Regions from separate parts of the Homo sapiens genome. Here region 1 is linked to region 2. Evidence: promoter capture Hi-C in human tissues and cell types (Jung and others, 2019). All regions are on one chromosome and are shown on one strand. Each heading gives the region's core, a stretch centred on a gene start or on the middle of the fragment in contact. The rest is flanking DNA. Distances are from core to core; before and after follow the strand shown. Region 1 holds the start of C1QL1 (complement C1q like 1). Region 2 overlaps MAP3K14 (mitogen-activated protein kinase kinase kinase 14).

Evidence for each region. Contacts are between HindIII fragments. The study calls those that stand out against the background at their distance.
Region 1: the fragment with the promoter of C1QL1 here is called in contact with a fragment that was not itself captured in region 2 in 1 of the 25 tissues and cell types used here (hippocampus).

What each region holds. Positions count from the first base shown.
Region 1 is chr17:44,965,726-44,970,189 of GRCh38, forward strand. It overlaps C1QL1 (complement C1q like 1), which reads right to left and starts at 2,578. Exons shown (of 2, transcript NM_006688.5): 1 at 1,727-2,578. The coding sequence starts at 2,323. It also overlaps the pseudogene LOC112268183. RefSeq lists a silencer at 2,509-2,868. The HindIII fragment of the contact is 17,092 bases long and covers 1-4,464 here.
Region 2 is chr17:45,304,337-45,308,575 of GRCh38, forward strand. The region is part of intron 1 of MAP3K14 (mitogen-activated protein kinase kinase kinase 14); the gene reads right to left. Among named protein-coding and RNA genes, the nearest start is that of MAP3K14, 11 kb to the right of the region's middle. RefSeq lists an enhancer at 3,376-3,515. The HindIII fragment of the contact is 4,981 bases long and covers 268-4,239 here.

The DNA.
Region 1 (4,464 bases), core at 1,328-3,827, 340 kb before region 2:
CTTCCTGAGGTGGTGCAGGGTCTAGGGCCAACCTGTGGCCCAATGACTGCCTCCCTATCCAGGCAAGCTGCCAATCCCCTGAAACCTCAGCTCTGTGTCAGCCCAAACTTCTTTGGGAAAGGAAGACATTCCATTGATGAAGGTGACATTGCTGCATCCCTTATTGGTGATTAATAGGGGGAATCATGGGGCTGTCTGCAGAATGAGCCTTTGCTGGATACTGGGGCCTCCCATTTGGTCAGGAACCAAGGACAAAGAGGAGAGACACGGGGATGTCTGATAGACACACGTGGGAAAGAGAGACATACAAGGAATAGAGAAGAGTGGGGTTAGATCCGGGGAGGAGAGGCCAGAAACCCAGGGAGAGATGGAAAAGGCAGACACAGGAGAGAGATGGACAAGAAACAGCAAAATAGAAGAAAGAGGCAGGGGAGAGGCAGAAACCAGAGAAAAGGTGTTGGCGGGGCAGCAGCCAGGCAGAGGAAAGAGAAGAAGGGCTGACTTATAAGCACCTGGCAGGCTATCTGCTCACTTTCCCTGCCTGCCCCTGTCTCTGCCCCTAAGACTTGCAGACCCGCAGGCTGGCAGAGCCTCAGGGCAGTGCTGCTGTGGGAAGGGTTCCAACAAGGTCTTGTATCTTAATCGTGAGAGATTCCTTCTCAACTTCCACTAGCTCAGCTTTAGTTCTGACCAGTGGTCCCCTTCTTCGAAGAGAATGCTCAGCCTGACCACACCCCCAGGTCACAGGCCACCACGAGTGAGAGCACTGGGAAGGGAGGTGGTATCAAGAGAGCTGGCTAAAATTGTCACCCCAGGGCGGGGCTGGGTGGAGGCTGGTCCTGGGGTCGGCCATTCCAAGGAGAGCTACACGCACATGCGAGTCCCGGTACCAGAGTCCCCGACACACTCAGTGCTTTCCAGCTGCAGCGTCTGAGATGGGGACGGAGAATGGAGAGGACCCCACACACTCCAGAGTCAGGAGGGGCTGGAGCTGGGAGACCAAGAGGAGGGGGAGTTTCCATCTCTTCCACCACCCCCCACCCCCCACCCCCTCCCCGCCTCAGGAGGAAAAACTCCCCCGCCCCCCAGACTGCCTTCTTTTTGGGGAAGCTCTGCTACAGTGGGAAACAGCTCCCCAACTCCCGGATTTTGCAAAGGGTGTCAGATTCGCCCAATGGTCCCTTCTCCAGGGCAGGGGAGGCACTGCAGCCAGGGCTGTAAGCACCGGGCTCCCTTTGCCTTTGTGCCCCAAACATTTCCTGCAGCCAGCCTTCTCCGCTCGCGCCCATGGCCACGCGCCTAGGCGCCCGCGGGCGCGGATGCTGCTTCTCCCTGTTCCATACGCCAGAGCCCATCCTTGCCCTCCCCTTATCGCCCACTGCTGTCGGCCCGAATCCACTTCCCAAGGGGCAAGCCCCCAAGGGCAAGTCCGTGCACCTGGGAGCCCTGCGCTCTGACTAGTTGGGTTCATTTCCCGCATTTCCAGTAGCGTTCCAGACGGTGCCCAGCAGCGTCTGTCTTGGAGCGGGAACCCAGGAACTGAGGATCGGCGATGTCCGCTGGCTCCGACCATCCCCACACGTGATGACCAAGCGGGGCCGCTGTGGGGTGGGATCTCCACCTGCGTCCGCCTGGCGCCCCCGCCAACTCCGATCAGGTACCCATTTGCCCCGGGCTCCCTGGGTGCCCTGGGCCCAGCCCAGCCCCATGCCCCCGCCTGGCCCACCTGGCCATTCTTGCAGAGGTCTGCCCACATACTGGTGCCGTCGCCGCCGCGCATGAGGACATGGTAGGTGAAAAAGTAGGTGCCGGGAATGTTGCACGTAAACTTGCCGCTGGCCGCGTCGTAGTTGTTGCCTAGGTTGGTGACCACGTCGTCAAACTTGAGTACCTCGTAACCCTCGTGGGGGTTCTTGAGGCCGGCGTAGAAGGCCACGCGCGGCACCGTGGTGTAGGTGGCAGTGCTGATGGCGCCGCTGCCCCCCGCGCCCGGCAGCCCCGGAGGGCCCGGCTTGCCTGGCTCACCCTTCTCCCCCGGCGGCCCCACAGGGCCGGGAGGACCTGGGTCCCCGGGAGGCCCCGGAGGGCCGGGCTTGCCGGTGCGGCCCGGCTTCCCCTGGGGGCCCTGCACCAGCGTGGAAGGCGGGGGCGCGCCGCTCTGCTCGCTCAGGGCGTCGCCGCCGTCGGTCCGCGCGCCGGCGCCGGGGCCCCGCGCGGGGTAGGGGTCGCACACCATGCGGCAGGTGCCCAGCATCTCATAGTGGCCTTCCGGGCCGCCCGAGCTCACCAGCACGGGGATGAGCACCACCAGCACCAGCAGCATCACCACACCCGCGGCGGCCGCTAGCAGCGTCTTTCGGCCCGCGCGGAGCCTGGGGAGCGCCGGGCCGCCCGGCCGCGCCGTCGGGGCAATGGTGCCGGCGGGCAGGGGGCGCGGGCTAGGCGCCCGCGCTCAAGGACGGTCCGGCGGGGCTGCGGGCATGGGGCCGGGCCCGGGGCGCCGCGCTGCGCTGGCTGCGCTGCGGAGCCCAGCCGCCGGCTCCTGCCTCGCGCCTCCCTCCTGCTGCGCTGCCGGACTGAGCGCCGCGGCCGCCGCCTCCCGCCTCCCGCCTCCCGCCTGCAGCCTCCCGCCTGACTCCTCCCGCCTCCTTGAGCCGGGCCACCGCCCCCTCGGCCGGGCCCCGCCCCGCCAGCTCCGCGCGGCTCTGGGCTCTCTAGGGGTGGGGCTGCGGGCGGGGCCGGCGCCTAATTGGGCCGCGGGCGCCTCGAGGTGGGCGGGGCATAAGGGGGCGGGGCCGCGGAGACCCCGGGCGGGAGCAGGGAGAGGAAAGAAGAGACTGAGTACGCGGAGACCGAGATTCGGAAATGGGGTGGGGGCCGGGGTCCGAGAGACCCGAGAGGCGCTCCAAGGGAAGGGGAGAGTAGGGACCAAAATGCGAAAGGGAGAGAGGGCCACAGGGAGAGCTAGAGAGCTCCGAGGGGATCGGGAGAGGAGAGGCTTCGAGGGTCGGTCACCAGGAAAACAGAGGGACTGGGGTCGCGACGGGCCAAGACCCGCAGGGGGCGGAAGCGAGGGGATAGCGCCCAGGTCTGCAGGGGACAAAGAGCGATTGAGGGGAGGACGGAGCGGGGAGCTGGAAGGTAGGATGAGAAAGGGGGTTATGAAGCGAAGAAGAGGATACGGAGGGGACCATTTGGCACTCAGGCCTCGCAGACCACCCGTCTGGGAGATCCAGATATCGGATGAATGCCTGTCCGGGGGCCCAGCGGAGCCAGACGGCAGCCGCCTCCTCCTTTCTGGATCTGACTGTTCCGGGACCCGTCTCCCCCGAGGTGGGGCAGGAGCTTCCAACCCCTCCTCGCCTCTGCCCCTTCCTCACCGAACTGTGGCCAGGCTGCTTTTTCCTGGGCCCTTTTCTTCCATCTCCCTCTGCTCAATCCCTTTACTTCTGCCTCTAGACCAGGGAGAAAAGGGGATCCTAAAAAGGTGGGCACCCCCACGTTATTTCTCCATGCTGACAGATGCAAATACGTCCCTGAGGGGTAACCCCCTTTTCCAGCCTCCAGGATGAGGGGTGGATCTCATCCAGCCCCTCAGCTCCTCCTCCCTCACTCCCCAGCCTCCTCCGCCGCCCCCTAACTCTTCTCCCCATCAGGCTGTGGGAGGCTCTCCTCTTCCTCAAGTGCAGCAAAGTGTTTAGGTTGCATAAACCGAAACGTGTCTGCTTCCATCAAAATATTTGTCACATTATCTGAGGCCCAGGTCGGGCTGCTCCACCGCTCCTCCTTCGCCCTCCTTTATCCGGCCCACCGGGGAGGATTCAGCCATTCGGAGGCGACTGGCCGGCTGCTAAAGAATGACATCCCAGCCTCTCCTCTCCCGAGAGCTACCCCCCGCCGGCTCACACTCTCCCTGTTGACCCTTCACCATGGGCAAAATGATTCCCTGGCCTTCCCTACCCAAGGTTGAGGTCGCTCACCTCATCCAGGGCTGGGAGTAGAAGGACACAGGGACATCCAACGAGGGGGCTGTGAAAGAGGACCCTCCAAGCACTAATGGCTGAGGCCAGGTTGGAGTGACCCCACCACCACCAAGGAGGGAGCTAAAAAATTTTCAATAAGTAGCATTTATTCAGGGTTTACTCTGTGCTAGGCCCTGTGTTGAATGTTTTACATACATGATCACCCTTGATCTTCACATCAGTCCAAAGAAGTAAAATCCAAGATTATTTTAATTTTACAGATGGAGAACTGAGGCTCTGGGAAGTTAAGAGATTTGCTTAAAGTCACACAACTAATAAGTGGGAGAGCCGGGACTCAAACTCGTAGCCTGGCTCCAGGCTCTTCCAACCTCAGCGCGATAGAGTCTCTAGGTACCGTTTACTGCCCAAAGCCCAGGGGTAGGGGGCTCAGGGCAGCCAGACCTCCCTAGGCTCAGGAAGAGTAGTCTTCAGCGCTCGGCTG
Region 2 (4,239 bases), core at 1,508-4,007:
GGAAGGTACAGATGTATCATCATTTTCCCACCTGGAAACTTTGTTTCCAATTTTTCACTTATACGTAATAATGGAAAAAACTCTACCCTTATTCACATTTATGTGTACATGTAGAAGGAATTCTAGGTGGTAAGCTCTTGGGATTGGAATTTCTGGGTGACTCTTTTGTTAATGGGTTATATCTTTTCTCCTGTTTCTATGTGTCAGAGAAGTAGATAGCATCAGATAGGTGGTTTCCAAACATTGTATTATTTATTTGCTGTGAAGATGCTATCCTTGCTTTCAACATGCCTATAGTCTAGATGGGGAAAAAATGGGTAGATGGATAAATAAATCATAAAGGAATAATCAAAGTGCTCTTAGGATCAGAAAGACCCTCAGAGGTAATTTCTTCCAACATATTACTTACTAATCCTGAGGAATGGCCATTCAGCTACATGACAGGATGGCCTTGGAGTCAGAAGATCTGAGTTTGAATCTTAGTTTCTCAATACTCTGGTGTGTGACCATGGGCAGGTCACATAATCTGAGACTCAGGAGTCTTATCTGTAATATAGGGATCCTCAAACCTACATGATAGAATTTTACACGGTGACTCAATGCAAGGAACAAAGTTTAAATTACATAGCACAGTGCCTGGCATGCAGTGGGCACTCTGGAAACATCAGTGGAACCTCCAGTGAGATGGAAGCCGCTACAAGATGAGCAGTCAGACCTTTGTATGACTGGAAGTGTAAGATTTTTTTTGGTTTTATGTTTTTTTATTTTTTTTATTTTTTGAGACGGAGTCTTGCTCTGTCGCCCAGGCTGGAGTGCAGTGACGCAATCTCGGCTCACTGCAAGCTCTGCCTGCCGGGTTTACACCATTCTCCAGCCTCAGCCTCCTGAGTAGCGGGACTACAGGCACCCGCCACCACGCTCAGCTAATTTTTTGTATTTTTAGTAGAGACAGGATTTCACCATGTTAGCCAGGATGGTCTCGATCTCCTGACCTCGTGATCCACCTGCCTCGGCCTCCCAAAGTGCTGGGATTACAGGCGTGAGCCACAGCGCCCGGCCGTTTTTTTTTTTTTTTTTGTGAGACAGAGTCTTGCTGTCACCCAGGCTGGAGTGCAGTGGTGTGATCTTGGCTCACTGCAACCTCCACCTCCCGAATTCAAGCGATTCTTATGCCTCAGCCACCCAAGTGGCTGGGATTACAGGCATGTACCACCACGCATGGCTAATTTCATTTATTTATTTTTTTGTAGAAATGGGATTGTGCCATCTTGGCCAGGCTGATCTCAAACTCCTGGCCTCAAGTGATCTGCCCACCTCAGCCTCCCAAAGTGCTAGGATTACAGATGTGAGTCATGGTCTATAAGTGTTAAGTTGCTTCAAAGTTGCTGCTATAAGGCACTGAAGCCTACCTCCCACAGCTTCTAGCCAGCAGCCCTAGCATCAGACAGAAAGTCTGGAACAGATGTGGTCAAAGCAGGAGGAGGACAATCCTGAAAGCAGAGGGACAGAGTGGTCGGCAAGAACCCATGAAGATGTTCTTTGAAGAGCATTCTGCACACCCCATCTGGCTTCTGTGTCCACTGGCAGTGCCTCAGCTCTGCGTGATGAACTGGGACCCACAATTCCTTGGCAGCTAAAGCTGAAATTAGTTGTCCTGTGGTCATCTTTGAGTGTTACAACAATCTGCTATTTGTATACACATAACTACATGCTGGTTGTTGGTAATCATACAAATGAATAATAATGACAGCTATTATTATCTGCCATGTATTAGGTAATGCGTGCATTTTTTTCTTGAATCCTCACAACTCTGTGAGCAAGGCACTAATGTTATCCGTTTACAAGGAGGAAGAAACTGGGCCTCAGTAGGCCAAGTAATTTGCCCAAGGCCACACAGCAGTGAAGTGGCAGCGGCAGGATTTGCACAAGAGACTTTTATGTCAAAGCCCATACTCTTAACCATGACACTCTTCCTACTCCCAAATGATCTAAGCTTTAAAAATTGGGACCGAGATGCAGAAGCTGTCACAAGTCAAAGGTTAGTGAGAAATTCAGGGACTGGCCTGGGAGGAAGCACCTTAATTAGGAAGCATGAACTACAGCCAGCCTATGTTCTGGAAAAAGCAACTTTAAAATGACAACAGGGAAGAAAGACTCCAAGCTGGACTTGTGGTGGGCCTGTGTTCCTCAGCCCACCCAGGCCTGACATAGCCAGGCCCATTCCAAGGAGAAATTCTATGACAAATGCAAATTTGCCATTCACTTTACAAAGCCTGGCTGCAGGCTTCTTGAACCTATTTACCATTCTTTTTATAACAAAGACTCGAGCATCATTTGCTATCTTCATAAATTTCATCAGTACTTTTGCCCCCAGGCCCTGATACAGGGCATTTTATAAGCTTTAAAAGAGAAGTATTACAATGGTATTTTCAATTCAACCTTCAAATCCTTTGCACAAGGAGAGCCAACAGCAAATAGAAAAGACGCCACAGGGGGCATCATGGATCCACAAAGACCCAATATGCAGGAGAACATGTCGGGCAAGGTAGTATTGAGATAAAAACCTGTCACACGTGTACTTAATTTTATACAATAAGCAACAAGGAATGTTTAATGTATATTGTATAAAAAATTTTTCAGGCCGGGAGTGGTGGCTCACACCTGTAATCCTAGCACATTGGGAGGCCCAGGCGGGCGGACTGCCTGAGGTTGTGAGATCGAGACCAGCCTGGCCAACATGGCAAAACGCTGCCTCCACTAGAAATACAAAAATTAGCTGGGTGTGGTGGTGGGTGCCTGTAATCCCAGCTACTCGGGAGGCTGAGGCACAAGAATCGCTTGAACCCGGGAGGTGGAGGTTGCAGTGAGCCGAGATTGTGCCACTGCACTCCAACCTAGGCAACAGAGTGAGACTCTGTCTCAAAAAATTAAAAAAAAAAATTAATTAATTAATTAATTAAAAAAATTTCAAGTGTCATCGAAATCAGCAACTTAGGGTATTTTGTGTAACTGAATATTCTGATTAAGTGGGGGCTGCCCTGTATGCCACTTAACATGACCAATTTCCAAAGATTAGATGGCCATAATTGCCCTTGACACTAAAATCATGTGAAACACAGCCAGTTTCTTTGATGACTCAAAACGTACTTTGTGATCTTGCCAAGCTTTGAGATCATCGTTACAAGCAGCATTTTGGTTGTGAAAAACAACTCTCCTTATTTAACCTTTTGGGGTGGATTCTGAGCAAGAAGTTCCCTAGGCTACGGTCAATCTCGCTGAAATACAACCACCCACCGCTCCTTTCTGGGTTTAGAAATCTGGTTTTCAGAGGTGGGAGTGGCTTCAAGCAGCGTCTACCTGTGTTCAGAAAAGATGAAGAAAGACAGGCTCAGGCTCCCTGTATAGGAGAATTCAAGTTCATTGTAGTCACTGGTGACTGGTTCTGAAATTGAGGAACTAGTTTGAGGAACTTCAGAATAAACAAGAAACCCAAAGAACTCAGCTTCCACAGAAGGCTTCCAATGCATGGAAGGAGGCACAGGTCCAGCTCCGCCCTGTGGCGGGGCAACCTTGACCCTGGCCTCATTTCAGATGCTGCCCCACATGCTCTTTGACAAGCTGGACCAAGTAACCAGCTTGAGGACATGAGTGGCAGAGGGGTCCCTTTATAATGAGGGGTCATATTCTTGTCCTCCCTTGGGAAGGTAAAAAAGGGCTTGGGACATGGGGCATGATGAGGAATATTCTCAGAGGATCTCACACGATTCTTTGGTAAAAGAGGGTAAATCATGAAACAGCCCACGGCTCTCTCGTCCTCCCCGAGGCCAGCAGGGCTTAGCGGGAGGAGTTTGGATTCAAGTCTTGTACTTTCACTCAACAGCAAATATTTAATCAGTGGCTACCATGTTTCAGGCACCGTGCTGGCCAGCAGGAATATGAGGATGACCAAGAGCCTTCTCTGTTGAAACCCTTGAAAGGCCTTCTTGGAATGCTGAACCCAGTTACCTAGAAGCACTGCCTTGATCTACCTGCCTACAACTCTCTAGTGGCACCAAGCCTATGGGATGTGCCAGTGTGGTCACTGCCCTCCCAATTCTCACTTGGAGGGGTGGGAGGTGGTCAGTTATGTGTTTATTAGCTGGCTACTCACTGTCTGATTCTACTTTGAACTATATTTTCTTTTTTGAGAAGAGGACTTGTTCTGTCACCCAGGCTGGAATGCAGTGGTACAACCATAGC